Linked DNA regions of Homo sapiens: regions 2, 3 and 4 are each linked to region 1. The links are contacts of gene promoters, found by promoter capture Hi-C in blood cells and fetal thymus (Javierre and others, 2016). All regions are on one chromosome and are shown on one strand. The core of a region is centred on a gene start or on the middle of the fragment in contact, and the rest is flanking DNA. Distances in the headings are between cores, read along the strand shown.

Region 1 (2,730 bases), core at 22-2,521:
AGCCCACACCAAGTCCACCCAGCAGGGGCAGTGACATTGGTCATTTCTCTCTGACTTGCCTGTGAGGCTCATGGCTCACTCAGGTCAATTTCAGAAAAAGCTAAAACCACCACCTTCCTATTTCAAGGCCTTAGTTTTCTTTCATTTTATTAAAGAGGTTCTAGTGGCATGATTCGGTTCCTGGTCAGGACCTCTTCCAAGCAGGTCCTGTGGCCCTGTCAGCTCATATTCCTGGGATGTGCCTATAAGCACCAACTAACCTGTCAACCTATCACAAGGTCTCCTCCAGCTACTCTGCCACCCACTCCCTCCAGGGATGTGGCCCTGCCCAATAGAAATACCTCTGCAAAGTGACAGAGAGGGAAGTGTCACTCCAATCCACCTTTCTTCCCTCTAAGAACCCCACACACAAGGACACTTTAGGCCACCATGCAAGGTTTTCAGACTTAGCATTTCCTCCAAAGTGTCCATCTCTGCAACTCACTGCTCTCAATAATGCTGTTGTATGAATGTCCATTCCTGCAGATACACAACACACACACATACACACACACACACAGAGAGAGAGAAAGAGAGAGAGAACCTCCCTGGCCAACGCAGCTGAAGGCAACTGGTCACCTCTTCATCATGAGTACTGAAACCCCCTGATTAAATCCTCTTCTCCAGACTTTTAGGGGAGAAATTCAATTTTTTCTTCTTTTTTAAATTTAGCTCACCAGACATCACTGGCCATTCTACACTACCTGTCCCCCAAACACACACACACACACACCCCACATGGAAACAGACACCAGCATACAGTCAATTGCAGAAGCTTAGGAAGATTTCTTGGGCACGGTATATCCAGTTGGCTAATAAGAAAATACGTCTCCCTTCAGCCTGTGCCTTGACTACTTAAAGGATAGGAGGGAAGGGGAGACGAAGTTACTCTCCTCATTGTGTTCACCCTGCTCCGAAGAACTCTGTCTTCCACTGGCCCCTCCACCTCCTCCCCATTCTCGGTAGCCCCAGCCTGTCCCCCTTGCCCCTTTCTTACATTCCGGGGGGAGGAGGGCGCTGTTCAGAGGGGAGGAGGGCGCTGTTCAGGGAGCGAAGGGGAGCCCCCTTGTGTCTAGAAGGCCTCTCCCCACCCCCACCCCGTGTGAGTTTGTACTGCAAAGCTCCTTGGCATCCTTGCCTGAGTTGGGTGTTGGGAAGCTCAAATTGCAGCTACAAACTGGCTGGCAGCCAGGGGCCGGCTATTTAAAAGCGCCTGCTCTCCCGGAGCCCCGTAGTCTCTTTGGAAACTTCTGCAGGGGAAAAGAGCTAGGAAAGAGCTGCAAAGCAGTGTGGGCTTTTTCCCTTTTTTGCTCCTTTTCATTACCCCTCCTCCGTTTTCACCCTTCTCCGGACTTCGCGTAGAACCTGCGAATTTCGAAGAGGAGGTGGCAAAGTGGGAGAAAAGAGGTGTTAGGGTTTGGGGTTTTTTTGTTTTTGTTTTTGTTTTTTAATTTCTTGATTTCAACATTTTCTCCCACCCTCTCGGCTGCAGCCAACGCCTCTTACCTGTTCTGCGGCGCCGCGCACCGCTGGCAGCTGAGGGTTAGAAAGCGGGGTGTATTTTAGATTTTAAGCAAAAATTTTAAAGATAAATCCATTTTTCTCTCCCACCCCCAACGCCATCTCCACTGCATCCGATCTCATTATTTCGGTGGTTGCTTGGGGGTGAACAATTTTGTGGCTTTTTTTCCCCTATAATTCTGACCCGCTCAGGCTTGAGGGTTTCTCCGGCCTCCGCTCACTGCGTGCACCTGGCGCTGCCCTGCTTCCCCCAACCTGTTGCAAGGCTTTAATTCTTGCAACTGGGACCTGCTCGCAGGCACCCCAGCCCTCCACCTCTCTCTACATTTTTGCAAGTGTCTGGGGGAGGGCACCTGCTCTACCTGCCAGAAATTTTAAAACAAAAACAAAAACAAAAAAATCTCCGGGGGCCCTCTTGGCCCCTTTATCCCTGCACTCTCGCTCTCCTGCCCCACCCCGAGGTAAAGGGGGCGACTAAGAGAAGATGGTGTTGCTCACCGCGGTCCTCCTGCTGCTGGCCGCCTATGCGGGGCCGGCCCAGAGCCTGGGCTCCTTCGTGCACTGCGAGCCCTGCGACGAGAAAGCCCTCTCCATGTGCCCCCCCAGCCCCCTGGGCTGCGAGCTGGTCAAGGAGCCGGGCTGCGGCTGCTGCATGACCTGCGCCCTGGCCGAGGGGCAGTCGTGCGGCGTCTACACCGAGCGCTGCGCCCAGGGGCTGCGCTGCCTCCCCCGGCAGGACGAGGAGAAGCCGCTGCACGCCCTGCTGCACGGCCGCGGGGTTTGCCTCAACGAAAAGAGCTACCGCGAGCAAGTCAAGATCGGTGAGCGCGCTCAGTGTGCCAGTCAGTTACGCGGCGCACGGGCGGGGGACACGAGACCGGCTGGGCCCGCGCGCTTTGCGCAGCAAGTGGCTTCGAGCTGGGGTGCAGCTCGGGAGTAGTCGGGGAGGGTCCTTGCACCCCGGAATTGGAGCCCTGGAGGATCCTGCTACCCGGGGGAACTGTCTAGCCGAGTCTATCCCAGCTTTCGCTCTTTCTCCTTCCTCCTACCCACACGTTGCCCGCCCCCTCCCCCTACTCTGTCCGAATACTGATTCTGAGCTCTTATTCGGTCACAAGGTCCAAATCCCCTGGTACCCTATCTACAGTCTGAAAGAGTGTATGTTACATT
Region 2 (2,877 bases), core at 181-2,680, 1.0 Mb before region 1:
CAGTTCTGCATGGCTGGGGAGGCCTCAGGAAAGTTACAATCATGGTGGAAGGCACCTCTTCACAGGTGGCAGGAGAGAGAATGAGAGTAAGCAGGGGAAATATTAGATGCTTATAAAACCATCAGATCTCGTGGGACTCACTCATTATCACAAGAAAAGCATGGGGGAAACTGCCCTCATGATTCAGTTACCTCCACCTGGTCCTGCCCTTGACACATGGGGATTATGGGAATTACAATTCAAGGTGAGATCTGAGTGGGGACATAGTGAAACCATATCAGTGACCTTCCTCTGTGTGGCTTCAGGATTTTGGTCCTTGTGATAATGATGGTTATGAGAGGACTCTCCCCACTTCCTCTGTGAAAATCCATAAGGGCTACCTCACATGGATGTCTGAATCTGCCAAGCCACTGCTGGAGCTGGGGCCACTACTGTCTTCTGGGCCAGTAGTTCTGATGTCCCAGTGGCTGGGTCCCAGGCTCTGTCTATGAACTTGCACTTGTTCTGTATCTTGTGCCAGGGCCTTTCTGCCCTAGACAACTGACATACTCCCTGTTGCTCCAAGCTACTTGATGATAATTTTTTCCAGCCAGGATAGAAATGGTTTCCTTTTCCTGTTAGGCTACTCTTCTGTGGTTCTCTCTGAGGAATTGCTTGAGTCCTTAGCTATCATGGCTATTTTAATGTATACACAAGACCTGTTCCTTTCAATGGGATGCTCATGCCATTAGGGTCCCTGGGACTGGAGTGGATTAAAGCAAGTCCACCACCTTGCTTCTCCCAGAACTTCCACTCTCAGCCTTGATGCCTAGGTCTGGGGCTGTGTCCCGCAATCCAGTATTTTCCTGCCTCCATTACAGATTCTCCTTTTCTGCTGCCCTTGAAATAGAGCTTCTCTTAACATGTTCTATCTACACACTTCAAATTAATCATGCTTATTTCTGTGTCTGAACCCCAAGTTTGGCCATGGATCAAGTTATTTCTCCAGGACATTCTAATACCCCGTGCAAATCAATGCTATGAATCGATATTGAGGAGACCAAAGCTGAGATAATACCTAACTTCAGGTGTTCAGAATAGCTCAATTCTAGTTTTGGTTTAAAAGCCTTTTTTACACAATGACTATGTTTTTGCCTTCTAGCAGCCCCTATCGTTTTCATTCTTCTCTTCTGACATAGTGCTGGGTAAATTTAATACATCTTTTACATGACAGGTCTCTTTGAAGACAATAATCGTGTTTTTCTGGAATGTTCTATTTAGGATACCTTAGCAAGAATGCTTGTCTGCTGGAGAGACCACATCTGGAGTTCTGAATTGAGATGCAGATCCTGTGTATAAGAAGGACATAGGAAGAGCTGTATGTCAGAGGAGGAGAAGCAGAGACTCCCACACCACGTTGTGGGAAGAACCTGCTTCGTGCTCAGGGGTCTTCCTTCTCTTTCTAGGCAGAAATGTCTAAAGAAACAGCCTAGCATTGCCGTGTCACCACTGAGCAAGAGACCCCCTTCTCATTAAGGAATTTGGAGTGAAATGACACAGCGCATGAAAAAGTTCTCTGTGGAGTTATCAGCATTTTTTCAAATAAATTATTTATATTTTTTGGCACTAAAATAGATTTAGCATGTCCTAGGGGTATTGATTGGCTTGGGCTGGATTCTGTGTGGAGGCGCAGAGGGAGGAAAAGTCCTGGTTTTAATGGAAGAAACATCCCAGGCACATGGGGGGAAAACCCAAAAACAAAAACAGAGAAGCATGATGTACCCAGCCCTCCTCAAAGCACTTGGGAGTTGGCACTGTGCACAGTTCTGGTGCTCAATCAAGGTTGAAACATAACCCAAACATTGGCGAGCCCATGGGCCAACTCCCTACATTTCTGGAATGGTCTTGCTGAGAACAAGAAATCCACTGCATCCACCAGAATTCTCTTTATTATTTCCCACCCAGGCTGCCTCTTCTATCTTGTACCGGACAGGACCCATTCCATTCTGAGTGCAGCTCTGTGGTCTGAGCACAGATGGAGGCCCGCTTCCCTCCCTCTCCAGAACTTTTTTAGGGAGGGTCCTGTATTTATTTTGAAGAAAGATTTTGAGTCACTATGGGGGAGGGTGACACACAAGGGCATGCTCAGCTGAAGGCTGTGATAAAAGATGCCCTCAGAACTGCTATGTGTAGGATAAGTAGGGAAATTTGTGTTGCTTCTGAGAAAGGGGAGTAAGGAGAGGAAAAAAGAGAAAGAAGTGAAGGGCAGCCAAGAGGTAGAAGAGACTGGCAGGGTTGGGGGGGGGTGATCCTGTCTCCTGAAAGGCTTAATATAAGTTATTAAAAATAACCGAATGGTTTGTGGGCATGGCCATGGGGTAGATGTGCCAGAGAAGGGGCTGTGTGTTGTACCTGCAATAGAATGAGAGAGGCCAGAGCCTGTGGCTGGGCTGCAGGAACTGCGAGAGAAGGTCTGAGCATGAATTATACTTGTTTCCTTGTTTATTTCTCCTATTGAACTTGAACTCCTTCCTTGGTGGGCTCTATCTTACTTGTCTTGTGTATTTTCAGTGGCAGCATACTGCGTAAAACAGAGAAGGCCCTCGATCAACACTGTTCAAAGGAAAGAAAGACAGAAGGATAGGCCTTTGCAGTAGAATCTTTTAATTTTGCAGGTAATAAAGGATGAAAGATAATTGAGAATGCCTCAGAAACAGCAAAGTCCCAATATTGATTTCTTGTAGTCTACAGATTCATTCAAAGGAAAATGAAATCAATTAAACTTTTCTTTAAATCTTGTCTTCCTTATCTTTGCAAGTCTAGTCCAGATGGATTGGTCTAGCGCAGATGCACCTGCCCCATGAAGCCTTTTCTATGCTCCTAATTGGGCATCATGGT
Region 3 (2,700 bases), core at 194-2,693, 1.1 Mb before region 1:
GACGTCACCACTGTGTCATTCCTAGGGTCTAAAGTCCCTACTGGGTCTGCCCTCTTCTCACCTTTCGGAGTTTCTTATTTGGTGTGTGTATATATTCATTCCAGAGTTTTAGTCATAATTAATAGGGGAAATAGGGAAAAGTGCATCTGCTCTATTTTCTCAGAAGCAGAAAAGTCTAGCTTTATTTTTATTTTTAAAAACTTGCACATATATTTTGAAAAATAATTAAAGTGATACGAGCACATGCTGAATAAAAGTGCTGTAATGAAAGTCAAAAAGCTCTGAAGAACAGGTTACCTAATTTGCGGGTCCCAGTGCAAAATGAATAGGCAGGGCCCCTTGTGTAAAATGCCAGGAGAAAAAAATGCCATTAAAGATACTAAAATATAAAGCATTTTCCTTTCTTTCCTAGTTGTCATGGCATTTTAAAATTGGTATTCAATTTCATTCTAAGTACAAATAAAAAAATTATTTGTATGATAACATTCGTCTTTATATTGTGCAATGCCAGTTTTAAATGTAAATATAAGAATATTTAACTCACAAGTAAAATCACTTAAATTACACAATTATTTATAGCTCATACATTCAGTGGAAATGCTAACCCAAACAAATTCAACTGTTTTTATTTTATTTTATTTTATTTTATTTTTTATTTTTAACTGGTACAAAGTAATTGTACATATGAGGGGACTTCAAAAACTTCATGGAAAATGTGTATTATGAAAAAATGATGCATGAATTTCCAACTTTTTTGTACCAAAATGAACTCATACTAATTAGTTACAGCATGTCTAAACAGGATCTAGCTTGAGGCACTAAGAAGGATAAGGCCTCAGATTGACAAGAGCCCCTATCAGGGCAACATGAATTCTGCTACAATTAAAGCAAGAACAAACATATGTTTCTGGTGAAGCTTTGGTGAAAGAATGGTGAAGTCACTGATGCTTTACAAAAAGTTTATGGGGAAAATGCCCCAAAGAAATTGGCACTTTATAAATGGATAACTTGTTTTAAGAAGGGATAAGAAAATGTTGAAGATGAAGCCTGTAGAGGCAGACCATTCACATCAATTTGTGAGGAAAAAATTCATCTTGTTTGTGCCCTAATTGAAGAGGACTGATGATTAACAGCACAAACAATAGCCAACACCATTGCCATCTCAACTGGTTCAGCTTATGTAATTCTGACTAAAAAATTAAAGTCGAGCAAACTTTCTACTTGATGGGTGCCAAAACTTTTGTGCCCAGATTATCTGCAGATAAGAACACAACATTCAATGGAAATTTTAAACAAGTGGGATCATGATCCTGAAGCATTTCTTTGAAGACTTGTAACAGGAGATGAAACAGGGCTTTACCAGTATGATCCTGGTAGATGGCTTTACCAGTATGATCCTGAAGACAAAGCACAGTCAAAGCAATGGCTATCAAGAGGTGGAAGTGGTCCAGTCAAAGCGAAAGCAGACTGGTGGAGAGCAAAGGTAACGACAACAGGTTTTGGGAATGCTCAAGACATTTTGCTTGTTGACATTCTAGAGGGCCAAGGAGTGATAACATCTGCTTATTATGAGAATGTTTTGAGAAAGTTAGCCAAAGTTTTAGCAGAAAACCCCTGGGAAGGCTTCACTAGAGAGTTCTTCTCCACCGTGACATTTTTCTTATTACACAAGTGCAATTTTGCAAGTGTTTTGATGAGAAATCATTAGGCATCCACATTACAGTCCCGATTTGGCCCCTTCTGACTTCTTTTTGTTTCCTAATCTTAAAAATCTGTAGAGGGCATCCATTTTTCTCTGTTTAATAATGTAAAAAGACTGCATTGACATGGTTAAATTTCCAGGACCCTCAGTTCTTTAGAAATGTATTAAATGGCTGGTGTCATAGCTTACAAAAGTGTCTTGACTTTGGTAAAGTTTATGTGGAGAAATAAAGTGTATATTTTGATTCCATGTTTTCTCATAAGCTTTTTGGAGTCCCATTGTATTTATGGGGTACATGTGATATTTTGATACCTGCATACAGTGTGTAATGATTAAGTCGGGGTATTTAGGATATCCAACACCCCAAACATTTATTTCTTTTGTTGGGAACATTTCAAATCTTCTCTTCTAGCTGTTTTGAAATATGCAATAAATTATTATTAACTATAGTTAGCTGTCTGTGCCATCAAATTATAACCTATTTCTTCCATGTAATGATATGTTTGTACCCATTAAATAACATCTTTTCTTCTTCTACTCCCACCTTTCCCAGCCTCTGGTAACTATCATTCTACTTCCTACTTCCATGAGATCAATGTTTTAGCTTCCACATATCAGTAAGAACATGCAATATTTGTCTTTCTGTGTCTGGCTTTTTTCACTTAACATAATGACCTCCATTCTATCCACGTTGCTGAAAATGACACTATTTCATCATTTTTAATGACTGAATAGTATTCCATTGTGTATACAGACACCACATTTTCTTTATCTGTGCATCCTTTGAAGAATACTTAGGATGATTCCATATCTTGGCTCTTTGAATAGTGCTGCAATAAACATGGGGGTCCATGTATCCCTTTGATATACTGATTTCCTCTCTTTTGGTTAAATACCCAGTAGTGGGATTGCTGTTTTGTGTCACTGTTCTATTTTCAATTTTTTGAAAAACCTTCAAACTGTTTTCCATAATGGCTGTACTAATTTACATCCCCACC
Region 4 (2,777 bases), core at 212-2,711, 1.0 Mb before region 1:
CCTCTGGAGGGCATATTAATGCAAATGGGAAGATGAACCAACCCATCTGGCTGAGTAGTAAGATCACCTGTGAGAGTGGAAACGTTTGCAAGTTGCCTCTCCCTGGCTGGTAGCCCATCTCTTTCCTTCAATCTCTCTCTTTTTTTTTTTCTAGTCCTGGATCAAGAATCTGTCATTCAGATTATTCCAGAGCCCCTGCCCCAGTTCTACTTATGCCTCCTGGATGCTGAGCTGACAGGCGTGGTGAGGCTCTGGCAAGCTTCTGCCTTCACACCCATTCCCCCAAGCTCACTGTCTTACTTTGCTCTTGGGAATCTTGTCTACATTTTAACAAACATCAGTTCACATAGCAGATTTGAAGCAATGAGGGACAGGCTGGGGAGGGGAGATGTTCTGGGATGGGAGATGCTTCTCATTTACCCTGTGGGTACCTGCCTTTTGGCTGGTCCTGAAACTGTCAGTATTCATCGTTACCATTCATTGAGCAGCTATTATGTGTGGGGCTCTGTACTGTCCTCTGAGGGTATTATCCACATTTTCCAGCTGGAGAAACTGAGATTCTTGCCTAAAGTCACAGCTTTGGTGAGATGCAAAACAGGGATGGAAACCTAGATTTGTCTGGCTTCAAAGCCTGTGCTCTTACCCAGCATACTCAACCATTTATTGGTGGCCAATGGTCATGAGCAGTTACCAGGATACCCTGTACTTATTGCTGTGTTCCTGGACTGGTGCTAAGTGCTTTAACTGGATTCCTACATTCAATTGGCCGCTGTTACACTCACAGCTTTGGTGGAGTTAGTCCTCAGATCTGAGCTGCGTCTTCCCCATGGGGCTGCAGCCCTCAGAAGGCCTCTTGCTGCCCAGGGCCACAGCGTGACTTCTGTGGGCACTTCGCCCTCATGAGTCCTACCCCTGGAGAAAAATATTAAAATTTATACTTTATGACTACATTGGCATAAAAACAAATGTAATTCCGGCTGGATTCATGATTGTATACTCATTTGTATTCTATTCATTTTTTCTTCTGATTTTTGAAAGACAACTAAAATAAAAACATTTTTGAGGGCCCCTAGAAATATTGTGGCTTCTAGGCACTGCACTGTGCCTCATGGAGAAGTACGCCCTGCGTGCTGGAAGTGATGGGCAGTCCTAAGAGTCTTGTCCTGGGAACTCCTCTGGACCCAGCAACCTCTGCTGCCACCTGACCTAGAGCCCAACCCCACTCCTTCAGCCGAGCAGCCCTAAGGTAAGGGAAAACCAGGATTGCCTCTGCCCTCTTACTCCACCCCTTCCACCTTCTCTCAAAGTCCTTCCAAGCCTCGTAGACAATCAGCAAAAGAAAGTCACCCCTCTAGGCCCTTTTAAAGACCATTTAGGCCCCCTCTGCCTCCCCAGCACAAGCTCTTTGATTTCATCTCCTTCTCTTCCCTGTTTGGAAACAGCTGACTTTTAGGAACTGCAGTGACCAGGGCAACTCACCCCACTTCCCAGGAAAGTCCCTCTTTCCTTCTCTCAGAGAAAGATTGGAGGCTGCTCTGGGATTAGTGCTGCCGGCTCCCTCCCCGAAGGCTTTGTACCCTGCAGCAGTGGGCTCCCAGGGCCTCCATAGGGAGAAGTGCCTTCTCTGCTCAGCCTTGACTTCAGAGGGGCCCAGGGTGGGAGTGGGAATGGAGGGCTCCATTTCTTACTTCATTCCTCCATAGTATATGGCTAAGTATTCAAGAATTATAAGCAAAGCTGCAAACTTGTATGTTCTTTCTTTCATCCTTGACAAAATACTGTTAACCAAACTGAAATGAAGCCAGGTAAGATGTAAGATATTGGCATTTATTTGGGGGGTCTTAGGAATTGTAATTTGGGAGACATAATACCTTTTATGACAACCTAGAAAATCAGCTTCTAAATTTAGAACTTCAGACTCTGCAGATACCTGAGCTGGAATATACTGGAGCAGGGAGGACTGTCCCTCGCCCCCGCCCACCCCTCTGCTCCTCCTACCCAAGCCCCCAATTTGAATCTAGAGTGTCTGTGTGCACACAAGGGTAGGAGTGGTGGTGGTGCCAGCTCTTGCAGCCCAGCCTTGCTGCCCCTTCAGTCTAGGGGTGTGTGTGTGTGTGTGTGTGTGTGTGTGTGTGTGTGTGTGTGCGCGCGCTAGAGGGGTGGTTGGCTCCAATCTTGCAGGGGGACACCCTGGGCAGAGGCCCAGACAGGAACCCAGAGTGTGTGGTTCAGAAGGAAGCCCTGAGCTTTGGTCTGGTATCTTCTCTTGGGCCTGTGAAATCCTTGCCCTGTGAAGAGCCCCAAGGCCAGAGGAAGGCCAGAGTGGGGCCTCTAAAGAATGGCCCAGTCCAGGAACCCCTGTTGTTTGGCTTTGAGGGAGGCGCTGTCCTCAGCCTCTGCTGTCTGGCTATCAATTTAGATCTGCTGACTCAGCTTATGAGGGGTTTGTTCATGTCTTAGGGCATGTGGCAGTGGTGGCCTTTTGTTACACATGATTGACTCCCACATCCTGGAATGGAATAGAACACATTGTTAAAACTATTGATGAGTGAAGTTGTAAAAAGCAAGTTGAAAAAGAGGCAAACTCCTAAGTACAATAAAGTAGCCTTTTCCCTAATATTGTTGGCAGATGGAAAATTGGTAATTTCATAATCAAAGCTTTATTAGGACATTTCTTGTGACATGTCCACTTAAGTTAAACCCTACAAGGATATGAATAACTCTCAAGTTTCATGCCAACTCTTATTACTTTGTAAATTGAGGAAAACACCATGAGT

The links. The method cuts DNA at HindIII sites, captures the fragments that hold promoters and counts their contacts. A CHiCAGO score of 5 or more calls a contact.
Region 2: a fragment that was not itself captured here is called in contact with the fragment with the promoter of IGFBP5 in region 1 in 16 of 17 cell types (naive CD8 T cells, total CD4 T cells, neutrophils and 13 more); the score reaches 21.4 in naive CD8 T cells.
Region 3: a fragment that was not itself captured here is called in contact with the fragment with the promoter of IGFBP5 in region 1 in 3 of 17 cell types (total CD4 T cells, naive CD8 T cells and activated CD4 T cells); the score reaches 7.5 in total CD4 T cells.
Region 4: a fragment that was not itself captured here is called in contact with the fragment with the promoter of IGFBP5 in region 1 in 16 of 17 cell types (non-activated CD4 T cells, total CD4 T cells, naive CD4 T cells and 13 more); the score reaches 18.5 in non-activated CD4 T cells.

What each region holds. Positions count from the first base shown.
Region 1 is chr2:216,694,090-216,696,819 of GRCh38, reverse strand. It overlaps IGFBP5 (insulin like growth factor binding protein 5), which reads left to right and starts at 1,271. Exons shown (of 4, transcript NM_000599.4): 1 at 1,271-2,381. The coding sequence starts at 2,045. It overlaps IGFBP-AS1 (IGFBP5 antisense RNA 1), which reads right to left and starts at 2,374. Exons shown (of 6, transcript NR_187138.1): 1 at 2,059-2,374. The HindIII fragment of the contact is 8,390 bases long and covers 817-2,730 here.
Region 2 is chr2:217,697,832-217,700,708 of GRCh38, reverse strand. The region is part of intron 2 of DIRC3 (disrupted in renal carcinoma 3); the gene reads left to right. Among named protein-coding and RNA genes, the nearest start is that of DIRC3, 91 kb to the left of the region's middle. The HindIII fragment of the contact is 3,270 bases long and covers 1-2,877 here.
Region 3 is chr2:217,775,051-217,777,750 of GRCh38, reverse strand. All of the region lies in intron 2 of DIRC3 (disrupted in renal carcinoma 3), which reads left to right. Among named protein-coding and RNA genes, the nearest start is that of DIRC3, 14 kb to the left of the region's middle. The HindIII fragment of the contact is 1,049 bases long and covers 919-1,967 here.
Region 4 is chr2:217,736,953-217,739,729 of GRCh38, reverse strand. The region is part of intron 2 of DIRC3 (disrupted in renal carcinoma 3); the gene reads left to right. Among named protein-coding and RNA genes, the nearest start is that of DIRC3, 52 kb to the left of the region's middle. The HindIII fragment of the contact is 2,399 bases long and covers 262-2,660 here.